Regions from separate parts of the Homo sapiens genome. Here regions 1, 2 and 4 are each linked to region 3. Evidence: promoter capture Hi-C in 16 types of primary human blood cells and fetal thymus (Javierre and others, 2016). All regions are on one chromosome and are shown on one strand. The core of a region is centred on a gene start or on the middle of the fragment in contact, and the rest is flanking DNA. Distances in the headings are between cores, read along the strand shown.

Region 1 (2,700 bases), core at 81-2,580, 260 kb before region 3:
TGAGACCCCATCTAAAAAAAAAAAAAAAGTTTAGGATTTTACAGCATTTCAGATTTCAGATTTCTAGATTAGGGATGCTCAACCTGTAGTAGTTTTATCTAGCCTTCTTCCTAGCTGACTACAGAGAATCCACTTATCCAAGATCTGAAGAATCCAATTTAGGTTGGTTGTTCTCTAGACATTGCTTTATTATTTTGCAGCATTCAGTGTTCCTGACAGGTGTCTGCTTTTCATTCCTTTCCAAGTAATCTACTTTCCTCTCTGCAAGGTTATCTTGGTGTTCTTTTTTTTTTTTTTTTAAATTATTAGACAGGGTATCACTCTGTCACCCAGGCTGGAGTATAGTAGCATGATCATAGCCCACTGTAACCTCAAACTCCTGGGCTCAAGCAATCCTCCTGCCTCAGCCTCCCAAGTAGCTAGGACTGCAGGCATGTGCCACCACACCCAGCTAATTTTTTAAATTATTTGTAGAGACAGGGTCTCACTATATTGCCCAGACTGGTCTCGAACTCCTGACCTCAAGTGTCCTCCCACTGCAGCCTCTCAAAGCACTGAGATTACAGGCATGAGCCACTGTACCTAGCCTTGATGTTCTAAACTTTTACCCTGGCCTTTTCACTCTGTTTAATAGTAGGTAGACATTTTACATCTGAAGATTCATGCTTTTCTTAAACTCTTGGAAATTATTTTCTATTAGATCTTTGATAATTTCTTCTTTGTTTTCTCTGTTCTCTTTCTAGGACTTCTGTTAGTCAGATGTTAGACTTCCTGGGTTGATCCTCTATGTCTCTCTCTTTTTTATTATTTATTTATTTATTTATTTATTTATTTTTTTTGAGACAAGGTCTTGCTCTGTTGCCCAGACTGGAGTACAGTGGCACAAATACGACTCACTGCAGCCTCGACCTCCCGGGCTCAAGCAATCCTCATGCCTCAGCCTCCTGAGTAGCTGGGACCACAGGTGCACACCAGCATACCCAGCTAATTTTTTAATCTTTTGTAGAGATGGGGTCTCACCATGTTGCCCAGGCTTCTTATTTTTTATCTTATGTTTTCTGTCTCTTTTTTCTTTTGCTGTGACCTGGGAGATTTTGTCAACTTTATCTTCAAGCCCTTCTGTTGAATTATGTATTTAGATATCCTGTTAAACTCCAAAAGCTCTTTCTTCCTCTCTGTTTCTATGTCCTCTCATACCTGATCTTGTTTTTATAGAGTATGGATTAGAAGTGCCGGCTGGGTGCGGTGGCTCATGCCTGTAATCCCAGCACTTTGGGAGGCCGAGGTGAGTGGATCACTTGAGGCCAGGAGTTCGAGACCAGTCTGGCCAACATGGTGAAACCCCATCTCTACTAAAAATACAAAAATTACCCAGACGTGATGGTGCGCACCTGTAATCCCAGCTACTCAGGAGGCTGAGGCAGGAGAATCGCTTGAACCCAGGAGGCGGAGGTTGCAGTGAGACAAGATCATGCCACTGCACTCCAGCCTGGGCGATAGAGGGAGACCCTGTCTCAAAAAAGGAAGTGCCTTAAGTTTCTTCTGTTGTCTGAGTTATGTCTCTTTATTCTGAGGCTGGTTGAATTATTTTTTTCTTGGTCCTTCTCTTTTATGCTGATGGTTTTCCTCAAATGTCTAGCAATCCTTATTTGGCTATTTATACCCAAGAATGAAGGCCCATTGTAGGGGGCTGTCAGAGGACTACTCTGCTGCAGTGTTTGTAGGTCTGTTTTCCTGAAAGGCATTTCCCCAGAATGGGGACAGGGAATGTCCACTGACAGGTTGCAACTTTAGCGAGTGTGGGCAAGGACCCGGGCATTAGATGGGATCCTGCCAGATGTCAGAACAAAGGAGGCCTCTTCTTTGGGGTAACATCTCTTTTTTCCCTCAGCCTTTCCAAAGTGTATCTGTTGTACTTATCTTTTCCAGTGTAGCTTTGGGCTTTGTTGGTCATCTCTACTGTTTTATTATGGTGGGTTTTTAATACTTCATTAATTTTTCTGGTTTTATCTTTATTAATGTTTTCCTCCGACGTTCTTTATTTTGTTCATTTCTGGCTTCTGGAATTTAATGCTTCAACATTTATCAACTCATTGGCCGATCTCATTTCATCTATACCTGTACCCACTGCCCTCTTCCTGTTTTCCTTCAAAGCTAATCCCAGATACCATATAATTTCTCCTGTAAATATTTCAGAATGCATCTCTAAAACATAAGTACACTTTTTTAGAAAAGCATTACCTTAGTATCAATACCTGAAAATTAACAATAATTATTTTTTTAATCTGCCAAGGGTCTGTCATTCAAAGAATTCTTTAATATCATTAATCATTCTTTTTGTTTGAATAAATGCATAGGAGGCTATAGCTGTGTGTTCTTTCATGGGTACACTATTGATTACACACACAGATGTGAAACACTGTGAATATATTCAGTGCATTCTTCCTTATTAACAAACGTGTGTAAACAAACAAACAAAAAGAACATGTCCATGCCCTTGGATCTCCCAGCTCCCCATCTCTCAGTCTCTGAACTCCAGCAGCAGGGAGACAAACTGGATAATCCTTAAAATACTGTTGTGAAGACAAGGAAAGCAGATGATCTAAAACTAAGTAGTTAAAAGAAACAAGTAACTTTGTTGTATTGGTGATTCAGTGAGTTGGCTCTTCAGAAGGGATTTTGTGTGCATTGACCTGGATC
Region 2 (2,700 bases), core at 166-2,665, 390 kb before region 3:
CACACCTGGCCTGCCTGGCTCGCACTCCGGGCAAAGGGGTCAGAACAGTGACTGGCACACACGTTAAGTGCTATGTGAGTGTTAAGATAAAACTAGGATGTCCAGTGGGGAGAAAGCAAGCCTTTGAAGATTATGTGCTTTTACAAACTTCAAGTGCAATGAAAACTAAACAAGATGTTGTTCAGGCATTCATATATGATATAAAGTTCCTTTCTTTAAAAAAGGGATGGGCTGGGCACGGTGGCTCACGCCTGTAATTCTAATACTTTGGGAGGCCGAGGCAGGTGGATCACGAGGTCGAGAAATCGAGACCATCCTGGCCAACATGGTGAAACCCTGTCTCTACTAAAAATACAAAAAAATTAGCTGGGCGTGGTGGCGTGTGCCTGTAGTCCCAGCTACTTGGGAGGCTGAGGCAGGAGAGTCACTTGAACCCGGGAGGCAAAGGTTGCAGTGAGCCGAGATCGTGCCACCGCACTCCAGCCTGGCGACAGAGTGAGACTCCATCTCAAAAAAAAAAAGAAAAAAAAAAGTATGACAAGCAGAAAGTAATTTGGGAGCTGCGGGGAGGCAAGGGTAAGGGATGGGGAAGTGGACCAGAGGCATATGCGTCATTGGCAGTGTCTAAGCACTCACGATAGGCGTGGATCACAGGGGCTCGCTCTGTAATTAAAAGGAAAAGGGTTTTTGTTGTGTTGTTGTTGTTGCTGTTTTTGAGACAAGGGTCTTGCTCTGTCATCATCCAGGCTGGAGTGCAGTGGTGCAGTCTCAGCTCACTGCAACCTCCGCCTCCTGGGTTCAAGCGATTCTCCTGCCTCAGCCTCCTGAGCAGCTAGGACTACAGGTGTGTGCCACCATGCCTGGCTAATTTTTGTATTTTTTAGTGGAAATGGGGTTTTGCCATGTTGCCCAGGCTCGTCTTGAACTCCTGACCTCAAGTGATCCACTCGTCTCGGCCTCCCAAAGTGCTGGGATTACAGGTGTGAGCTATTGTCCCCAGCCAAAAGGAAAAGTTTTACTGTAGTAACCCTTCCGGACTAGGGACCTCGGGCCTCAGCCTCAGGCTACCTAGGTGCTTTAGAAAGGAGGCCACCCAGGCCCATGACTACTCCTTGCCACAGGGAGCCCTGCACACAGATGTGCTAAGCTCTCGCTGCCAGCCAGAGGGAGGAGGGTCTGAGCCAGTCAGAAGGAGATGGGCCCCAGAGAGTAAGAAAGGGGGAGGAGGACCCAAGCTGATCCAAAAGGTGGGTCTAAGCAGTCAAGTGGAGGAGGGTTCCAATCTGATGGCGGAGGGCCCAAGCTCAGCCTAACGAGGAGGCCAGGCCCACCAAGGGGCCCCTGGAGGACTTGTTTCCCTTGTCCCTTGTGGTTTTTTGCATTTCCTGTTCCCTTGCTGCTCATTGCGGAAGTTCCTCTTCTTACCCTGCACCCAGAGCCTCGCCAGAGAAGACAAGGGCAGAAAGCACCATGAGTGGGGGCCCAATGGGAGGAAGGCCCGGGGGCCGAGGAGCACCAGCGGTTCAGCAGAACATACCCTCCACCCTCCTCCAGGACCACGAGAACCAGCGACTCTTTGAGATGCTTGGACGAAAATGCTTGGTGAGCTGGGGATCTCCTGCCCCCGCCCCGTCCCCACCGTTTCTTCCTCTTCCTCTCCTCCTTCTCTCTCTTCCCCTCCTCCCGCTCCTCCTTTCCCTCTCCATCATCTCCTCTCCTAGAATTTCCCGTCATAATCCACCCTTCCCAGGAAGATCTCAATGTCTACTTGCCTTCCCTCTGGCTGCAGCTCTTCCTTTGGGCCCATGACTGTCATGAGGCAGGAAGGACCAGGTCTGGCTCCAAGACCTTGTGGCTACCCCTGACCAGACTCCACTGACCCCTGCTTTCCTCTCCCAGACGCTGGCCACTGCAGTTGTTCAGCTGTACCTGGCGCTGCCCCCTGGAGCTGAGCACTGGACCAAGGAGCATTGTGGGGCTGTGTGCTTCGTGAAGGATAACCCCCAGAAGTCCTACTTCATCCGCCTTTACGGCCTTCAGGTGACCCCCCCACCCCCGACTGGACTTGCAAGCCAGTTCTCAACCCGCAAACCCAGATCTGTGTCCATATGTGTCCATAGCTTCAAGACCTCAGACCTGATCAGTGAATCCCTGAGCCCCAGAACCAAAGACTCATCCAGATGGCAAACTCTGACTTGCCTTTCTAAGTCTGCAATGACTGGCCCCAGTCTCCGTATCAAGATCTCTAAAGCCCCCAGTATTAGTCTGCTGCCTAAGCCTAATCTTTTCCACAAATTCCAATAAATGAGCACTGTATTTGTACCTGAACCTCAAATCTATTCTAAACTCAACATTTTGCATCCCAGGAATCTCTCATCAAAACTCCTGAACCCCAGATGTTTGCCAAGCTCCTAAGTCATAAATCTGTTCAACAAACCCCAAAGTTGAATATTCCATTGATCCTTGAACTCCAAATCTGTCCTTCTAAATCCACAGCACAGACCCCAGAGTTCCCATATTAAAATTCCTGAACACTCAAATACCGAGGTAGTTCTTAAGCAAAAAGTCTTTTCCACAATCCCCTGACCTGAACTTTCTAGGTTTAAGCCCCAAATTCATCCTTTTAAACCCATAAAGATGGACCCAGCATAACTTCCAGATCCCAAGGCTATCAAATATCCACCAAACTCCTAAACCATA
Region 3 (2,700 bases), core at 201-2,700:
CGGCGCACAGCTGCGCGGGTCTCAGCTGCCCACACCAGCACGCCGAGGGCCACCGCCACTACCAGCGCGCTCAGGAGCGTATGAAGTGGCCGCACGTACCTGCGGGTACAAGGGAACCAAGCTAGCCGGCCGGGCGGAGAGACGGCCTCCGGACCACCACCCACCCTGGGCCCCAAGAGCCAGGGTCTCCCGTCTCCGGACACTCCAGCCTGGCACATCCTCCCACCAGCCCTATCTCCAGCAGGCCCATCTGCCAGGGCTCCCGACTCACCCTTGTAGACCCCTCCTTTCCTCCTTGTCAATTCCACTGTCCTGTCTTCCTCAGGTCCCCGCTTCAGGCCCTCCCATCCTGCTAGACACTCCCCACACCCCCGGGCTCCCAACACTTCCCTGGACTTTCCTTCCGACTCTGCCCCCGTAGGGCCCCTCATCAGCCTGCCCGCAAGCTCCCCCTTTAACACCAGCCCCTGCAAATCCCTCTTTCAGGCCTTCTGTCTTCACACGTTCCCCTCTCCCCAGGCCTAGGGTCCTTATAGAACCGCCCTCCAGGCTCCCATTTCCCTATAGATTCCTCCCTCCATCATTGCTAGGACCTCTTCCAGGTCGTCAGCCCCACTCTGAACTTTCAGCACTGCTCAAGTCCTTCCTCCAGATTCTCCATCCCTCTCTGGTCTCAGGCTTTCCAACCATGGATCCTCCTCCTGGGCCCAAGTTCCCCAACAGGTACCTGCCCCTGGCGCCTTCCAATCATAGCCAGGCTCCCCTCCAAGACCGGATCCCCAATAAATACATCTTCCAAACCCTCCAACTTTACCGTCTATTTCCCGGTCTCTGCCCTAAGTACTCCAGGGTCGGCCTCAATCTGGCCCCATCATTCACATCACACCCCCCCTACGCCCCTCAAGTACTCTCATGTCCCCCTTTCGGGCCCTCCTTTTTTTCCGGTTCACCTTCCAGCCCACTTTCCCCTTCAGTCCCACACTTGTCTCCATCCTCCCCATATCTTCCTTGCAGACCCCCATCCCCCGCAGGCCCTCCTCATCAGCCAGGCTCCATCTCCCTGAGGCCCTCCTTATAACTAGGCTCCACCTCCTTCAAGGCCCCCCTTCCAAGCCCCTCAGGCCGTCCATCTCTACTGACTTCGCCCTTCCCGGCCTTGCACCCCCCTCAGGTTCCCCGTCCTGGTCCTCAAAGACCTGTGGGTCTACCCCCACGCTCTGCAGACGTCCCTGGCCAACCGGCGCCTCCCTCCCTCACCCGGCGAGAGCGAGGCCGATGCCGAAGCAGAGAAGGTAGTTGGTTTGGTAGTAGAGGAGGTTGTTGATGACGCGGTGGCACCATCGCTGCGGGTCGCATGGATCCGGAGCCGCCAGACGCGCCGACCCCAGAACAAAGTCGTCCAGGGCGCGTAGCGGTGGCAGCCGCACCTCCGACATCCTGCCGGTTAATGTGGCTGGACCAGCCAGGAGGGGGCCGGACTACAACAACCGTTACGCCCCTCGCCACCGCGGGGCACACCGGGAAATGGAGTCTGGGCTGGGCAGCTTTTTCCTAACCTCCTAGGTGGATTGCGCAGGGGCGGCGATGCACGTGACCGGAAAAGCAACTAACACGCCGCTCAGGAAAGCAGCAAAGGCTGCCGGGAAATCAAGCCTTTGCCACGAAGCGAGATGCTCCCAACCCTTAAAACTGCCATCCACCCCCGCGCGGGGCGCCGCAGGGGCTGCTCCGGGCGGTGCCAGCGGCTCAAGCACAAAGTAGCCAGACAGATAAGAAAGGAGGGACTGTCACAAGGATCCGAGTTGGATTCCACCTCCTTCCTGTCAGCGCCCAAGAGGGTCACATTTCTCCAGGAAACTCCATGCCCCGCCCCTGAGGTCAAGCCGTAAATGCCATTAAGGGCCTTTTATTCGTATTCATCACATCGGAGATCATCTCTTCCTAGGAAGCTTTTAAAAAATCCCCAGGTTGGATTAGGGCACTCCCTCTGGGTCCCTGGCAATTTCCTCCAGGTTAGGGATCCCAAGGGGTCGCTGCCTTCCTGGGTCTCTGGCCTGGCCCTTGGGGCACACAGTCATCAAGAAGTGCTGGGGGGAAGTGAGCTCTTTATTTAGACATAGCTCTGCTGAGTGGAAAGTGGGCACCAGCCCCATTAATGCTTGCTGGCTGGTGGCTTCCAAGCACGCCCCACTGCCAAGGCTCAGCTCTGCAGTTCTGCCACTGCAGGTCCCTAGCACAGCCCCCAGGGTCCTTAAAAGTCATCATCATCACAGATGTCAAGGTACACGTCGAAAGCCTCTCTGTTGCAGTTTCCATCAGGAGTGAAGACATATTTGTGGAAGGTCCCATCTACGCAGATGGCTGGGGGAGGGGGGGTGGTAAAAGGTCAGAGGCTGCCACAGCCACAGGCTCCAGTCCTCTCAGGCATCTCAGGACCTAGGGTCTGCCTCCAGGCCTTTGCCCAGTGCTGTCCCCCTTACTGATGATGAAGCTGAGCCTCACATGGCCCTAAAATCCTTTCAGGTCCAACCTGCAGGCCTTTGCCCCATGCAGTACCCCCAACCAAGGGGCTGTTCCCACTCACCAATGACAGAGTTGACGTTCTTGGAAGTATTGCGACCGAAGGCGCAGATGCAAGCTGACTCAGCAGGCACAGTGAAGCTCGCCAGGCTCCACTGAGAGTCCACGTACTGCCCAATC
Region 4 (2,700 bases), core at 64-2,563, 480 kb before region 3:
TCTCCCACCTCAGCCTCTTGAATAGCTGGGACTACAGGTGTACACCATCATGCCTGGTTATTTTTTTTTATTTTGTAAAGATAGAGTCTCACCATGCTGTCAGGCAGGTCTCAAACTTTGAAAACTAACCGAAAGCTTGTAACAAGCAGAGGAATGTTTAATCAAGAAAAACCAGCTGAGTGGCTCATGCCTGTAATCCAGCACTTCGGGAGGCCAAGGCAGGCAAATCACGTGAGGTCAGGAGTTCGAGACCAGCCTGGCCAATATGGTGAAACCCATCTCTACTAAAAACACAAAAATTAGCCTGGCATGGTAGTGCACGATTGTAGTCCCAGCTACTTGGGAGGCTAAGGCACGAGAATCGCTTGAGCTGGGAGGCAGAGGTGCCCATGTTGGCGAGGCTGGTCTCTAACTCCTGGCCTCAAGTGACCCACCCTCCTCAGCCTCCCAAAGTGGTGGGATTACAGGCGTGAGCCACAGTGCCCAGCCAACAAACCTTTCATCAGCTTGTTTTGTCTAGTATCTTATAGCCTTATAGGAAGAGGTTTTAAAAATAATTTTTATAAATTTAATATGTTAATATTGAAAAACAATAAAAGAATTCATTCCAATGGTGAAACAGAATTTCCCAGGTATCCCTGACTCGAATTCCTGACTCTTCTGTTATTTCATTCCATCATATTTCTTTGGAAGCAGAGTGGTGGGATGAAGGGGCAGGGCTCTGTTGAGAGAAGGTGGAAGTGAATGGGAAAGGTATTTATCACAACACTCTTTATGGTGAAAAAAGAACATGGAAATAAACCCAATGCCAGTCACAAATAGGGGACCAGTTCAGGGCTGGGTGCAGTGGCTCATGCCTGTAAATCTCAGCTCCTTGGGAGGCTGAGGTGGAAGGATGCCTCAAGGCCACGAGTTCGAGACCAGCCTGGGCAACATATCAAGATACCCCCATATCTCTCTCTTTTTAAAAAAAACAAAAAAAAAAAACAAAAAAAAAAAACAGGGTCTTACTCTAACATCCAAGCCAGAGTGCAGTGGCATGGCTCACTGCAGCCTTGACCTCCCAGGCTCAAGCAATCCTCCCACCTCACCCTCCTGAGTAGCTGGGACTATGAGCACACACCACCACACCCAGCTAATTTTATTTTTGTAGAGATGTAGTCTCACTGTGTTGCCCAGGCTGGTCTCAAACTCCTAGACTCAAGTGATCTTCTTGCCTTGGCCTCCCAAAGTATTGGGATTACAGGTACGAGCCACCATGCCCAGCCGACCCCATGTCGCTCTCTCTTTTTTAATTAATTTATGTTTGAGATGGAGTTTCGCTCTTGTTGCCCAGGCTGGAGTGCAATGGCACGATCTCAGCTCACTGCAACCTCCGCCTCCAGGGTTCAAGTGATTGTCCTTGCCTCAGTCTCCCAAGTAGCTGGGATTACAGGCTCCTGCCACCATGCCCGGCTAATTTTTTGTATTTTTAGTAGAGACAGAGTTTCACCATGTTGCCCAGGCTGGTCTCGAATTCCTAACCTCAGGTGATCTGCCCGCCTCAGCCTCCCAAAGTGCTGGGATTACAGGTGTGAGCCACCACATCCGACCTCTTTTTTTTTTTTTAAGAGACAGGGTCTCGCTCTGTTGCCCAGGTTGGAGTGTAGTGGCATGATCACAGCTCACTGCAGCCTTAACCTCCCAGGCTCAAGCAATTCTTCTGCCTCAGCCTCCCGAGTAGCTGGGACTACAGGGATGTACCACCATGCCTAATTTTTGGTAGAGATGGGGTCTCACTTTGTTCCCCAGGCTGGTCTCAACTTCCTGGACTCAAGTGATCCTCCCGCCTCAGCCTTCCAAAGTGCTGGGATTACAGACATAAGCCACTACGCCCAGTTGACACCATGTCTTAAAAAAAAAAAAAAAAAAAAAAACGTAAGGGAACCAGTTCAATAAAATGTCACCCTTGAATTCCCTGGGCTTCAGATATCCTCATCTGTAAAATGGGGATAGTAACAGGACCCACAACCTTCAGTTATTATGATTAAATTGACTGGGTACAGTGGCTCACGCCTGTAATCCTAGCACTTAGGGAGGCCGAGGCGGGCGAATCACTTGAGCTCAGGAGTTTGAGACCAGCCTGGCCAACATGGTGAAACCCCGTCTCTACCAAAAATAGAAAAATTATCCGGGCGTGGTGGCAAATGTCTGTGGTCCCAGCTCCCGGGAGGCTGAGGTAGGAGGACTGCTTGAGCCCAGGTGGCAGAGATTGCAGTGAGCCAAGATCGTGTCACTGCACTCCAGCCTGGGTGACAGAGTGAAACCCCATCTCAAAAAAAAAAAAAAGATTAAATAGATTAATATATGTATAAAATACCTTGAACAGTACCCAGCACATTGTCTCATAAATATTAGTTGTTCTTGTTAAGGTTACATGTTTGTGCAGTGAAATAGAGTTTACTCTTTATCAATCATGTTACAAAAGAGTATTTAATATGAAAAGACACTGATAAGCTTGTTACAGGGACAAGGGAGATGCTGAGTCAACACAATACAGTGTGATCTTTCGGTGACTTTAAAACATTGTTGAATTGATTGTATTTGTTATAAAAATAATGTGGAAAATAACAGCTTTGAATTTTATGTCAGTTGATGTTAAGATCCAACAGGAAGTTTACCCTGATAACGTTAAGATGAACAGTTTGAAAGCAGCTTCCT

What was found. Contacts are between HindIII fragments. The CHiCAGO score rates a contact against its expected background, and 5 or more counts as called.
Region 1: a fragment that was not itself captured here is called in contact with the fragment with the promoter of PRAF2 in region 3 in 1 of 17 cell types (non-activated CD4 T cells); the score reaches 5.2 in non-activated CD4 T cells.
Region 2: the fragment with the promoter of WAS here is called in contact with the fragment with the promoter of PRAF2 in region 3 in 3 of 17 cell types (total B cells, M1 macrophages and total CD4 T cells); the score reaches 7.2 in total B cells.
Region 4: a contact is called between a fragment that was not itself captured here and the fragment with the promoter of PRAF2 in region 3, in 2 of 17 cell types (non-activated CD4 T cells and total CD8 T cells). The highest score is 5.5, in non-activated CD4 T cells.

Annotation. Positions count from the first base shown.
Region 1 is chrX:48,809,788-48,812,487 of GRCh38, forward strand. All of the region lies in intron 10 of HDAC6 (histone deacetylase 6), which reads left to right. Among named protein-coding and RNA genes, the nearest start is that of HDAC6, 9.1 kb to the left of the region's middle. The HindIII fragment of the contact is 7,978 bases long and covers 1-2,700 here.
Region 2 is chrX:48,682,384-48,685,083 of GRCh38, forward strand. WAS (WASP actin nucleation promoting factor) reads left to right here and starts at 1,416. Exons shown (of 12, transcript NM_000377.3): 1 at 1,416-1,602; 2 at 1,900-2,040. The coding sequence starts at 1,471. The HindIII fragment of the contact is 18,512 bases long and covers 1-2,700 here.
Region 3 is chrX:49,072,552-49,075,251 of GRCh38, forward strand. PRAF2 (PRA1 domain family member 2) reads right to left here and starts at 1,451. Exons shown (of 3, transcript NM_007213.3): 1 at 1,258-1,451; 2 at 1-99. The coding sequence starts at 1,436. It overlaps WDR45 (WD repeat domain 45), which reads right to left. Exons shown (of 11, transcript NM_001029896.2): 10 at 2,585-2,700; 11 at 1,891-2,361. The coding sequence ends at 2,252. RefSeq lists a silencer at 1,634-1,733. The HindIII fragment of the contact is 3,027 bases long and covers 1-1,947 here.
Region 4 is chrX:48,593,601-48,596,300 of GRCh38, forward strand. No RefSeq gene overlaps it. Among named protein-coding and RNA genes, the nearest start is that of WDR13, 2.5 kb to the right of the region's middle. The HindIII fragment of the contact is 2,361 bases long and covers 134-2,494 here.